Linked DNA regions of Homo sapiens: regions 1 and 2 are each linked to region 3. The links are contacts of gene promoters, found by promoter capture Hi-C in blood cells and fetal thymus (Javierre and others, 2016). All regions are on one chromosome and are shown on one strand. Each heading gives the region's core, a stretch centred on a gene start or on the middle of the fragment in contact. The rest is flanking DNA. Distances are from core to core; before and after follow the strand shown.

Region 1 (3,570 bases), core at 524-3,023, 6.6 Mb after region 3:
CCCTTTGAAGTGGAACTTATTATAGGAGGAATACTTTGGGGTTGCCTTAACGACGCCGCTGAATCGAAAGCGCTCGCCTTTGTCAGCGATTTGTTCTCCTTTGCTGGGGTGCCCAGAGAAATTACTTACATGGGCTGCCTTAACATGCAGCCTGCAAATCAGTAACTTTGCAGCTCAGACTCGCAGACGCCACTCGGCTGCGGACAAAAAGAGTCAGGGGGGAAACGCACCAACCTTTCACGCCGAGGCTCTGGGGCTGGGGGCGCACGGGCGTGTTGGGGTCGGCAGATAAGAAGTTGTATTACAACGCCCCCCCTCGTCCAGGCTTCCCTCTTCTTCCCTCTGCACCCCCTCGCCAGTCCGGGCTGGGGCTCTGCGGGCCCGGACTCCGCTCGGTGGCAGCGGAGGCCCGGCTCCTCCAGGGCCCACCGGCGAGGGGCGCTCTAGGGCGCGCGGCCGGGCGCGGGACTTTCCCAGCAGCTCGGGCCATATTTAATAAGGGTCGTTCATCACCGAGGCGCTTTGAAGGGTCGCCTCCAGCCCTGTGCCCATTAGAAAGGCGGAGGTGACATTTAAACTCCGTTTTCAAGGATCGCGGGGGGATTTCATTGAAAAGGCAACTCGTTTGTCTTATGAGCCTGGAAACAACCCCCTTCTCGCTCCTTTTGACCACATGGCATAACTCAAAAACAATAGTTCAAAAGTGAAATGGCATCGTGGTGTTCATTCGGAGACAGGCCCCCATCTAGCACCAGAGAAAAGGGGTAGTCCGCAAGACAATGTGCTTTTTGTGTCCGACTCTGTCACAAGGATTGTGTTGTTTGCTTTGGAGGCTGCGCCTGTTATACTTTCCTGAAAGTGCTTGTGTTAAACAAGAGTTATAAGTCATCCAAAACAACAAACATTTTGATTTTCTTTGCCTAAAGGGCTTTCCCTGGCTATGGGCACCGTGAAAAAATAATGTCCTTGCTGAGAAAGGAACACCAGTAGTAGCATTACAAGCGGGCGCATTAAATATTGAATGACACGGGAAAAAGAGCTTGTCGAGGGGCACTCAGCCTTAAAGTCTTTCTTCAACTTTGTCTTCGGTGGCTGCTGGACTATTTAAGATGGTATTAATTAAGGCAGCTTCGGATGCTGCCCAGCCGGCCGGCCCCTCGGCCGCGCTCGGTCAATGGGCCTGTGCCCCCGCGCTCTGCTCACGCGTTGGCTGAGCCGAGTGCAAATGTCACTTCTCATTTGGAGGCTGAAGAGAAGTGCCCATCCTACATTAAGGGCAGCAGGGATGCAGTCAGCAGCAGGCGTTAAAGGAATACGAGGGACTGCGGTGAGGGGAGGGAAGGCGGGAACAAAATGGGAACAGCTGCCCGGGGCGGGGTCGAGAGAGTGCCCCAAGCACAGCTTTTGGCACATTTTGGAGAGCGCCGCTGGCAAACCGGGGCCAAGCGGGACTCGCTGGGTTGGAAGACCCCCTCTCTTTCGTCGTTCCTGCGTGGGGAAAATGAAAACTCTAGCTCTGCACAAATCCATTAGGCAGGCTGGCGGGGCGTTATTTTACAAAGGGACTCGCTTCTACAAAGAAAGACAAAAGCTTGGTGCAAACAGGCGTCTTGACTGACTTCCACCTCTCCCTACGGTCCCCTTCACAGATCACAAACAAATAAAGCCCAAAGGACCTCAGCCAAGGATCTCCAGATCCAATTTTACAGATGGCGAAACTGAGACCTCAAGCAAGACTCAAATTGATTTTTGTCAATATTCCCCGAAGTCAGAGGTTGAGACCCTCTTTGAGACCAAAGATCCAGGCGGGAGTGGAGTTCTCTTTAAAGTCGCCAACAACCACGCCAAAATGTCCCTTTCCCCTGCCCCCCATTGCAAGTGTTTGATTCAAAGTCAAATGGAAATTGGTTTCAGCAGTTGAAAATTCCTAACATAAAAAAAGGAATGAAGCTTACTGCCAACTGACTGTGGCATAAATGAAATGCATGCTCTGAGAAACTCTGTTAACTATCAGTTCTTGATGAAGAGAGACAAGATTTGGCTGGGCAGAGGGGGCAGGGCATCCCGGCAGATTGATTTCTGCAGCCAGAAGCCCAACAGGCGCCCCCGTCTCCCTATGTGGCGTTTCACCTGGATGTGGGCCTTCTCTTTTACCACACGACCCCTTGTAGGTGGGGGGAGATGCAGTAAAATGCCCTCCCCACCCCCACCCCCGTGTGTGTGTGTGTGTGTGTGTGTGTGTGTGTGTGTGTGTGTGTGGTTAGCACCCTTAGCTTTTGATCCATTTGCAATGTCTGATTCTCCATCTTAAAATGTGTCCATTCAGGGCTCCCTCTGGCCTTTTGGATAAGGGGCGGGTCATGTTTCCACCAAGAGCCATGTTGCAGGAGAACTAGTCCCTACCCTTCCTGCAGAGACTGGAATCTGAGCGCAATGGGTGGCCGGAGAGCTCGCATTCAGACAGCCCTGAGATGCGGGCCTGGGGCCCTACGCCCCATTGGCAGCTGGAGGCGTCGCTCTGGGGCCAAGGAACGCCTGGCCGGGTCAGGACGCGGGCAGAGGTGGGCGGTGGGGCAGCGAGAGAGGGCCGCGCCAGAGCAGCCCACTCCCGCACAGCCTAGGACTGGAGTTCCCAGGCCCAACCGCCTACCTGAGTGATCTGTTTTGCACATCTTTCCTCATTCCTCTTCTCTGCTGTCCCTACCTCCTCTACTTTTTTGCATGAACAGGGCCCAGGCCAGGATAACGGATGCAGAAAGATGGCCTTTTGGCCCGGAACGCACTCTCTCTCGTACGCATACACCCACCTCCCTACCACCCCCCCCACACACACGCTCACGCGCAATTCAACCCCCCCAGCCCAGCCCCAGCCAGTGCACTGGGCACACGCTCGGGATCCAGGCACCTTGCCAAGAGCTCGCGAGCACCCTGCGTGGCACACTGGTTGGAGTTCCTGCACGAAGTGGCGGGGGTGGAGTGAGGAGGGAGGGGTGGGCGGCGGTGCACGCCGCCGACTGCTGGCGGTGAGCACAAGTTCAGTGCTCAACTTCCCGCTCTTAACGAGACCCGGGATCCCTTTGGAGAGGCCCTCGGGAGCTGGCGACAGGGCTGGGAGTGGCGTGGGTAAGCTGGCCGGCGCGGGGCGCGGGCGGCGGGGCACAAGGGCGCTACAAGAAGAGGGCGCGAGGGTGCCCGCGGCCAGCCGGGCGCTCCGAGAAGTCAGCGCGAGCAGCTGTGACTTCACCTATTAGCCCCGATGTCTTTCCGAGGAGCCTGGTGGAGTTAAACAGCCCACAATGGGCGCTCTGGGGCGCCTCCAGCCTGACCTCCACCCGGGTTTAATAGTTTCATAGGAACTTCATTAAATCAATTACTTAGTGAGCACATCATCATTTATTTGTAATTAGCAGCGAGGAGCGCGTTCTCTCCCCCAGCCCGCGGCCCGGGTCCCAGCGGGGTTGACTAGTTGTGCAAGCACTTTTGTTTGCTCGAGTGTTGACTCCCGGCATTATTCGGCCCGGGTAATCTTTACGTCTCAATCTAGTATTCAGGGGGCGAAAGGAAAACAAA
Region 2 (3,241 bases), core at 569-3,068, 5.4 Mb after region 3:
TATAGCATGAATTCTGGAAGCCACAGTCCACCTTTGTAGTATCTTAGTTCAGCCTTGTTCCAGTTTATGATGTTAAACCTGAGCTTCCCTGAAACTCAATTTGTAGAAATATAAATATACACTCTTAAATAAATCCATTTGATTGTCATTCCTCACAAAGATATCATATGGCATTTAAGTTCGTCGTGTCCAAGCATGTTTGCAGCCAAATGGAAAACTCGCTGCATGGACCAAATGTGGTATTTGTGTTTTGAGCTTTTCTGTTTTAATCTGCTAGGCGACATAACCAATTTTCCTGCCATTGTCTCTCTTTACAAATGCTACTACTTAGTATGATTCTGTAGTTAATTTTTTTTAAATTTTTCATGGTTTTTAAAAATTTTTAATTCTAGCGTTAGGCATGTGTAAACAAATTTTATTGTTTAAATATGCAAGTAATAGTAAACCATTAAAAATGTCTGAGATGAAAAGAGACTTGTCTTTGGGAATAAAATGACATAAAGTTTTCCTTGAATTTTTTTCTGGTTTAGTTTTTTTGTTGTTAAGTTTTGTTTTTGTTTTTTCTGTTAACTCAAAAGTTTTAGCTCATAGAGCAATTTATGGCGGGCAAGAGAGGTATACTTGGTAGGCCTTTGCTGCCATCTACTGGCATTTCATGTAATTACTTATTGCTTCCATTCTAAAACTAATTTTGTGTAACGTATATAATAGTATTATAGGTTCCCCCTTTTTTTCTTCTTTCCAATTTTTCTTTAGTTAAAGCAAAGTGAAGCAAATGCGGACACCAAAGAAAAGCTCCCTTTACGCCTGCGAATCTTTGAAAAATTTCCAAACAGACCTCAAATGGTGAAAATCTCAAAGCTTCCTTCAGATTTTACAGTTCCTAAAATCAGGTACCAAAATACTTCTTTAATTGCATATTTCACATATATTGTAAAAGATTCATCATCTTAAATCTGATTTAACCCTTCTTTTAAGTATATGTGGGTTGGGTTTCTTTCTATTTTATTGTCATCTTTCTACTACCTCTACCTCTATTTAAAATAAATAAATAAATAAACAACTTTGACTCTTTTAAGCAATGTATTCACAGAAGAGTCACTTTATAACTGCAGTAGCCTAAGCAAGAAGGCTGCTTCCCATCGCTTCTCTCTGGGATGACTCCTCGGGAATGGGACATCCCAGGAAACTGGAGAAGCTGCTCAGTGTTGCAGGGATGGCAGGTAGACATCAATCTCAGACCCCAACCGTATGAGACTAAAATTGCCTCTGTGGCCCTTTTATTTTCAAGCAAACAGGGAAACCACAGCTGGCCCAGTTTGTGTACTACTACAGTGTTTATGGAGCCTACCATGTCAGGTTACCATATATAATTTGCCTTCCACTTTTTAAAAGAAGAACCGTGGCGTTTTTCCACTCATACTGATTTGATTTTCTACCACGTTTGCCCTCCAGTTAAGCAAATGCATAAAAGATGCTTTAAACACCTATTTTTAATAATAAAAGGAAATTCTTCTAGTTATAGCTCAAGAAATTACAAACAGAATTACAGTAATATGTTACTAGCTTTAAAAATAATTCTGTGGGGGGTTATAAAAGTATGAGACTATATATGGTGCCATAATATTTAAAATTCGGGTAGAAATATATTTGCATTTCTAATTTTAAAAAACAAAATTAATTGAATTTGGTAATTTGAAGAGACGTTACTTGAATTTTCGTTATGCTTTGAAGATCAGATGAACGCACTTGCTTTTGAGTCTTAAAATGTAAAATTCTCTCTTAGTCATTCTTATGATAAATGGACATTTAGAGAGAGCAACTAATTCTTCCAAGTCTTAGAGGGGGAAAAAAAGTGTTTTATTACCACAATAAGATTCAAAAAACTGGGCTGGGTGCGGTGGCTCACACCTGTAATCCCAGCACTTTGGGAGGCCGAACCGGGCAGATCACCTGAGGTCGGGAGTTCGAGACCAGCCTGACCAACATGGAGAAATCCCATCTCTAGTAAAAATACAAAATTAGCTGGGCGTGGTGGCGCATGCCTGTAATCCCAGCTACTCTGGAGGCTGAGGCAGGAGAATTGCTTAAACTCGGGAGGCGGAGGTTGTGGTGAGCTGAGATTGCACCATTGCACTCCAGCCTGGGCAACAAGAGTGAAACTCCGTCTCAAAAAAAAAAAAGATTCAAAAAACTACCATCGGTTACTGAGTAATATTGCTTGAAAGTTATTTCAAGGATATTGCTTTTTAAGCAGGAGTCACTGAGTTTCAGGAAGCTGTTGCTAATGAAATATTTTAGTCATGATCTAGTTTTCTATGATCTTTTATCACTGCTTTATCTTTGCTCAAGCAAACTCATCATTGCAAAATGCTGTCACTTGCTCCCTTCCACTAATAATGCCTGATGCACATATACTTCATTTGCAAAGGGAGAGTTTTATGAAGCAGTTTATTGACCGCCAGCAACAGGACACATGTTGCCTCCTGAGAAGCCTCCCGACCACCTCTTCCTCCTCCTGCGACCACTCCAAACGCTCAGCAATTGAGGACAACAAATACATCGACCAAAAAGTAAGATCTGCTGTTTCGAATAACCAGGCTTCTAAAAAGCATCTATGTTTGAGAAAAGAACCGCAGAGTTCTTTAGGGTCCTGGAATCCAATTTCTCAAGAGAATAATGAAAATAAAATGATTTCATTTGTAAAAGATATCATGAAACCTAACATTTTTTACTCTATGCATTGAAATTTTGCATTTGCCCGTGTAAGCTTTTGAGCTGCGCCACGTGGCAGCCATGCGACTTTGTAAACATCAAGAGCCTCCCAAATCTGCATTTTCTCAGGTGCGGAATAAAGGGCTGGGATCTCCAAGGCTCAGTCCAGGTGTAATGACCTGCCATCTCCTGCAAGTACAACTGCTTATGTCTACTTATTACATCAGAGAGGATACGAGAGCATGTTTCTCTAAAATCGGTCGAAAGAATTGCCATTTATTCAATGCTTAGTATGTGGCAGGAACTTAGGTGCAAGAGCTTATTCATGTTCTAGTTTACCTATTTCTTTATCATTTGAAAAGTAGAAGGGAAAATTTTTTTCAGATTCCACAGCAAAGTATCAGTAGGGAACCACATATAAATAAAGCAAATTTAGGTAATAATTTTAAAGAAATGTACTTTTTCATTTATTCACTTTTAAAAAAAATAATATAAGGGCTGTGTGCCATGGCTCACCCCTGTAATC
Region 3 (3,426 bases), core at 591-3,090:
ATTTTAGCATACTAAAAACTAGCCCTTTCTCACCCTTGTCAAGGTAGGAGTCATAGTGCCTGCTGCTTCCTGGGTTGTTGGTGCTTCCTGGGAATCCGCTGTTCAAATCGTCATACCGTGGTGGAGCCTTTTTAAAATAAATTTTATATATATATGTGTGTGTGTGCATATATATATGTGTATATATATACGTATATATGTGTGTGTATATATATACGTACATATGTGTATATATGTATAAATATGTGTATATGTGTGTATACGTATATGTGTGTATATATATATTTAGTTTGAAGGCTTATTTAAAATGAAAATAAATTATGAAACTTTTCTGCTCTCAAAGATCTGTTTGGAAGAGTAAGTGTATTCAGTACTTTGTATGCCTTAATGTGTTTTCTATCTTAAACTAGTCTTCACAAGCTTTTACCACTCCAACTGAGATGTATACGTTAAGTTAGACTAATGTTTCAAAAACGGATACTTAAAAGCAACGTACCATAAAAATCTTCAGAAATTGTTACAAAGAAGAGTGAAAGAAAACAAGGTGTTTTACCATATGCATTTTTAAATTTAGCGTAGTGGATACTTTGTTTTAAAAATACATAATTTGTAGAATTACTGCCCAGTTTGTGTTTGAAACATAAATCCTGGGGTGGACGGCATTAAATTGAAAAAAAACGTGGGCATACAGTATATTTTAATTTTTCATACTGAATCGTACATTTGCACTGTGCCTTATTTCTACCGTGTTCTTCCTACTGTTGGACATATAAAAAGATTTTCCTTGGAACTGTGACTTGATTAGATGCTGCAGTATGCTGGATCCGGGTCGGTGGACCGCAGAGCGCTCGAGATGCGGAGAAGCAAAGCTGGCCGCTAGTGGGCGCTGTGGCTCCGTGGAAGTCACGGACGAGCGTCAGCACCGGCGCTCGACCGGGAAAGTAGCGAGGAGTTCCTGCCAGCTCTGCTCTGGGGTCTTGCAGACGCCGAGTGAGAAGCACATGCCTTGACTTTTCCATCTCACACCCTCTAAATCTCTGGTCACTTTGGGAAGCGCGCGTGTCTCCTAGAGGCTAGTGAGACGGTCCCCGCGTCGTGCCTGTGCCGGCGACACGCGGGGAAAGCTCCAGGGGCGCCACCTTCCCGGGGGGCCAGGAGGGAAGGGAGACGCCCGCAGAGAAGGCGGGAGGCGACGATGCTCAGGCCCTGATTAGAGCTGCAAATTCCGGCGCCGCGTCGCAGGAATCGTCTTGCAATTCCCGGCCCCACTGACTGAAACTGAGCCGTAGGCGATTGGTACCAAAATCAAGTGAGAAGCCCTCGCCGAGAGGCGTCGGGAGAAGCGCGCAGAAGCCGGGAGCTCTAAGGGTGCGCGCGGAGTGCAAGTCTTGCACGCGGGGCAGCGCCGCATCTGCGGAGAAGGGACGCCGAGCGGAGCCTGCTGCCTTCCGCACTGCTCGAGGGAAAGCCGCGCCCTCTGATTCCGCCGAGGGGGAAGGCGCCCCCGGGCGCGGAGACAGGTGGCCCGCTACTCGGCCGTCGCTGTTTCCACGTCTGCACCGCGCCCAGAAGGCCTCTCGCCGCCCCGGGGGCGCCCTGTGCACGCGCTGAGCGCTTCTCCTGCCCGGCTTCTGCTCCGCTCCCGCCGCCCGCGGGAGCCAGGGGCGGGGCTCACCTGTCAGCCCGAGCCCCGCCTCGCGGCACCCAATGTCGGGAGGGGATGGCGGACGGACGGACCGGCCGTCCAACCAGCGCGCGGCCGCGGAGCCGCGGGCCAATGGGCTTCGCGCGGCGGGGCGGGGCCCCGCGTTTATAGCGCTCTGACAGCGCGGCGGCCGCGCTGACTCTCCTCGGCGGGGACCGCGGCGCCGGCCGGAGCGAGGAGCTGCGCACGCAGCGGGTCCCGGCGCCCTCCCCGCACACAAAGGCCCGCGCGCGTCCGGAGCCCGCGGCGGGGACCGAGCTCCCTCTTTCCTGCCCTGGGGGCCGGGAGCCGCGCGGACTGAGAAGGCTCCTGCGCGCCCGGAGGCGCCCTACTCCGCTCCGTGCTCCGGGACATGGAACCGCGCCGACGCGGCGCCCGCGCGCTCGGGCCGCTGCCCGCTGCACTGGATCTATAGTCACAGGCGGCCCCGCTCGGGGCGCAGCGCCCGCCGCCCGCGCCGGTCGTCTCCGCTCCGGGTCTTTGTGTCCCAGCCCGCACCCGCCCCGCGCCCACCCGCCAGCCGCGGCCGGCCCGGCACCCTGGAGCCGCACGGGAGTCGGCCGTCCGAGCTGCGTCCGGCGCGGCGCCCCGGAACCCCGAGTCCGCCGCGCCGCCGCGCCCCGCGCGTGCGCTCCCGCCCCGCGCCCTGAGGGCCCCGGAGAGCGAGCGCACCTGGCCCGGCGACCGCTGGAGCTGCGCAGCGCGCCTCGGAGCTGCCTGCGGGCGCACGCCGTCTTCCCCGCCAGTCTGCCCCGGAGGATTGGGGGTCCCAGCCTGCGTCCCGTCAGTCCCTTCTTGGCCCGGAGTGCGCGGAGCTGGGAGTGGCTTCGCCATGGCTGTGAGAAGGGACTCCGTGTGGAAGTACTGCTGGGGTGTTTTGATGGTTTTATGCAGAACTGCGATTTCCAAATCGATAGTTTTAGAGCCTATCTATTGGAATTCCTCGAACTCCAAGTAAGTGGCGTCCGCGATCCCCCTATGTCCCCGCCCCGGGGTCCGCCGCGCCGTCCGGGCGGGAGGAGGGGTCAGTCCGCGGGGCCTCGGAGCCTGTTTCTGGAACCTCGGTTCCCCGTCCCCCACCCCCAACCCCCGCCCCATTTCACTAGGTGGAGACTCCTCGCTCGGCTTTCCAACCCGAGCCCCGCTGGAACGGACGGTCTCTCCGCCTTTCCTCCCCCGAACGCTCCCAGGCGCTAAAAGCTACTATCGGCTCGGGTGTCAAGTCCGGGAAGGTGTCCGATGGCGATACCTGACCCTCTCCTGTTTTCGAGGACGAAGGACATGGCCACAATCTAGGCTGGCCGGCACGCGGGGACTGGTGGGCTCTGGAGAGAGGCGGAGATGCTGCATTCGCGGGGAGCGCGGGCGGCGTGGTCCGGGGCCCGCGGGCGGGCGACCGGGGTGGCAGGACGCTGGCAGCGAAGCGCGTTCTGGAGAGGGGAGCCTGGAGTCGCTACGCTGCCCGCAGAGCCCTGGAGCCGGGGCGCCTTGGCACCGCGCCGCCAGCCCGAGGGTGCGCGGGGAGCTCGCCTGCTTCGCAGGAGAACTCGGGCGTCGAGCCCTTTCCTCCGCGCCGGGGAGACGGGCCTTAGGCTTCTCCCTGAGGGCCCGCCGCACCTCGGCCTCCCGCTTCGTTCATAAGCCGGTAGCCCCGGAGTATGCGGTCTCGATGGCCGACCTGATTGTAATGCACTTCCTATAAAAGCTTAGGGCCCTGCCCA

What was found. Contacts are between HindIII fragments. The CHiCAGO score rates a contact against its expected background, and 5 or more counts as called.
Region 1: a contact is called between a fragment that was not itself captured here and the fragment with the promoter of EFNB2 in region 3, in 1 of 17 cell types (total B cells). The highest score is 8.1, in total B cells.
Region 2: a contact is called between a fragment that was not itself captured here and the fragment with the promoter of EFNB2 in region 3, in 1 of 17 cell types (total CD4 T cells). The highest score is 7.2, in total CD4 T cells.

What each region holds. Positions count from the first base shown.
Region 1 is chr13:99,956,636-99,960,205 of GRCh38, reverse strand. CLYBL-AS3 (CLYBL antisense RNA 3) reads left to right here and starts at 3,041. Exons shown (of 5, transcript NR_120421.1): 1 at 3,041-3,123. RefSeq lists enhancers at 2,011-2,985, 2,986-3,570. The HindIII fragment of the contact is 359 bases long and covers 1,594-1,952 here.
Region 2 is chr13:101,142,412-101,145,652 of GRCh38, reverse strand. It overlaps NALCN (sodium leak channel, non-selective), which reads left to right. Exons shown (of 44, transcript NM_052867.4): 16 at 757-893; 17 at 2,432-2,573. Among named protein-coding and RNA genes, the nearest start is that of LINC00411, 200 kb to the right of the region's middle. The HindIII fragment of the contact is 1,909 bases long and covers 864-2,772 here.
Region 3 is chr13:106,534,076-106,537,501 of GRCh38, reverse strand. It overlaps EFNB2 (ephrin B2), which reads left to right and starts at 1,840. Exons shown (of 5, transcript NM_004093.4): 1 at 1,840-2,659. The coding sequence starts at 2,538. RefSeq lists an enhancer at 743-812 and a silencer at 1,393-2,052. The HindIII fragment of the contact is 2,990 bases long and covers 423-3,412 here.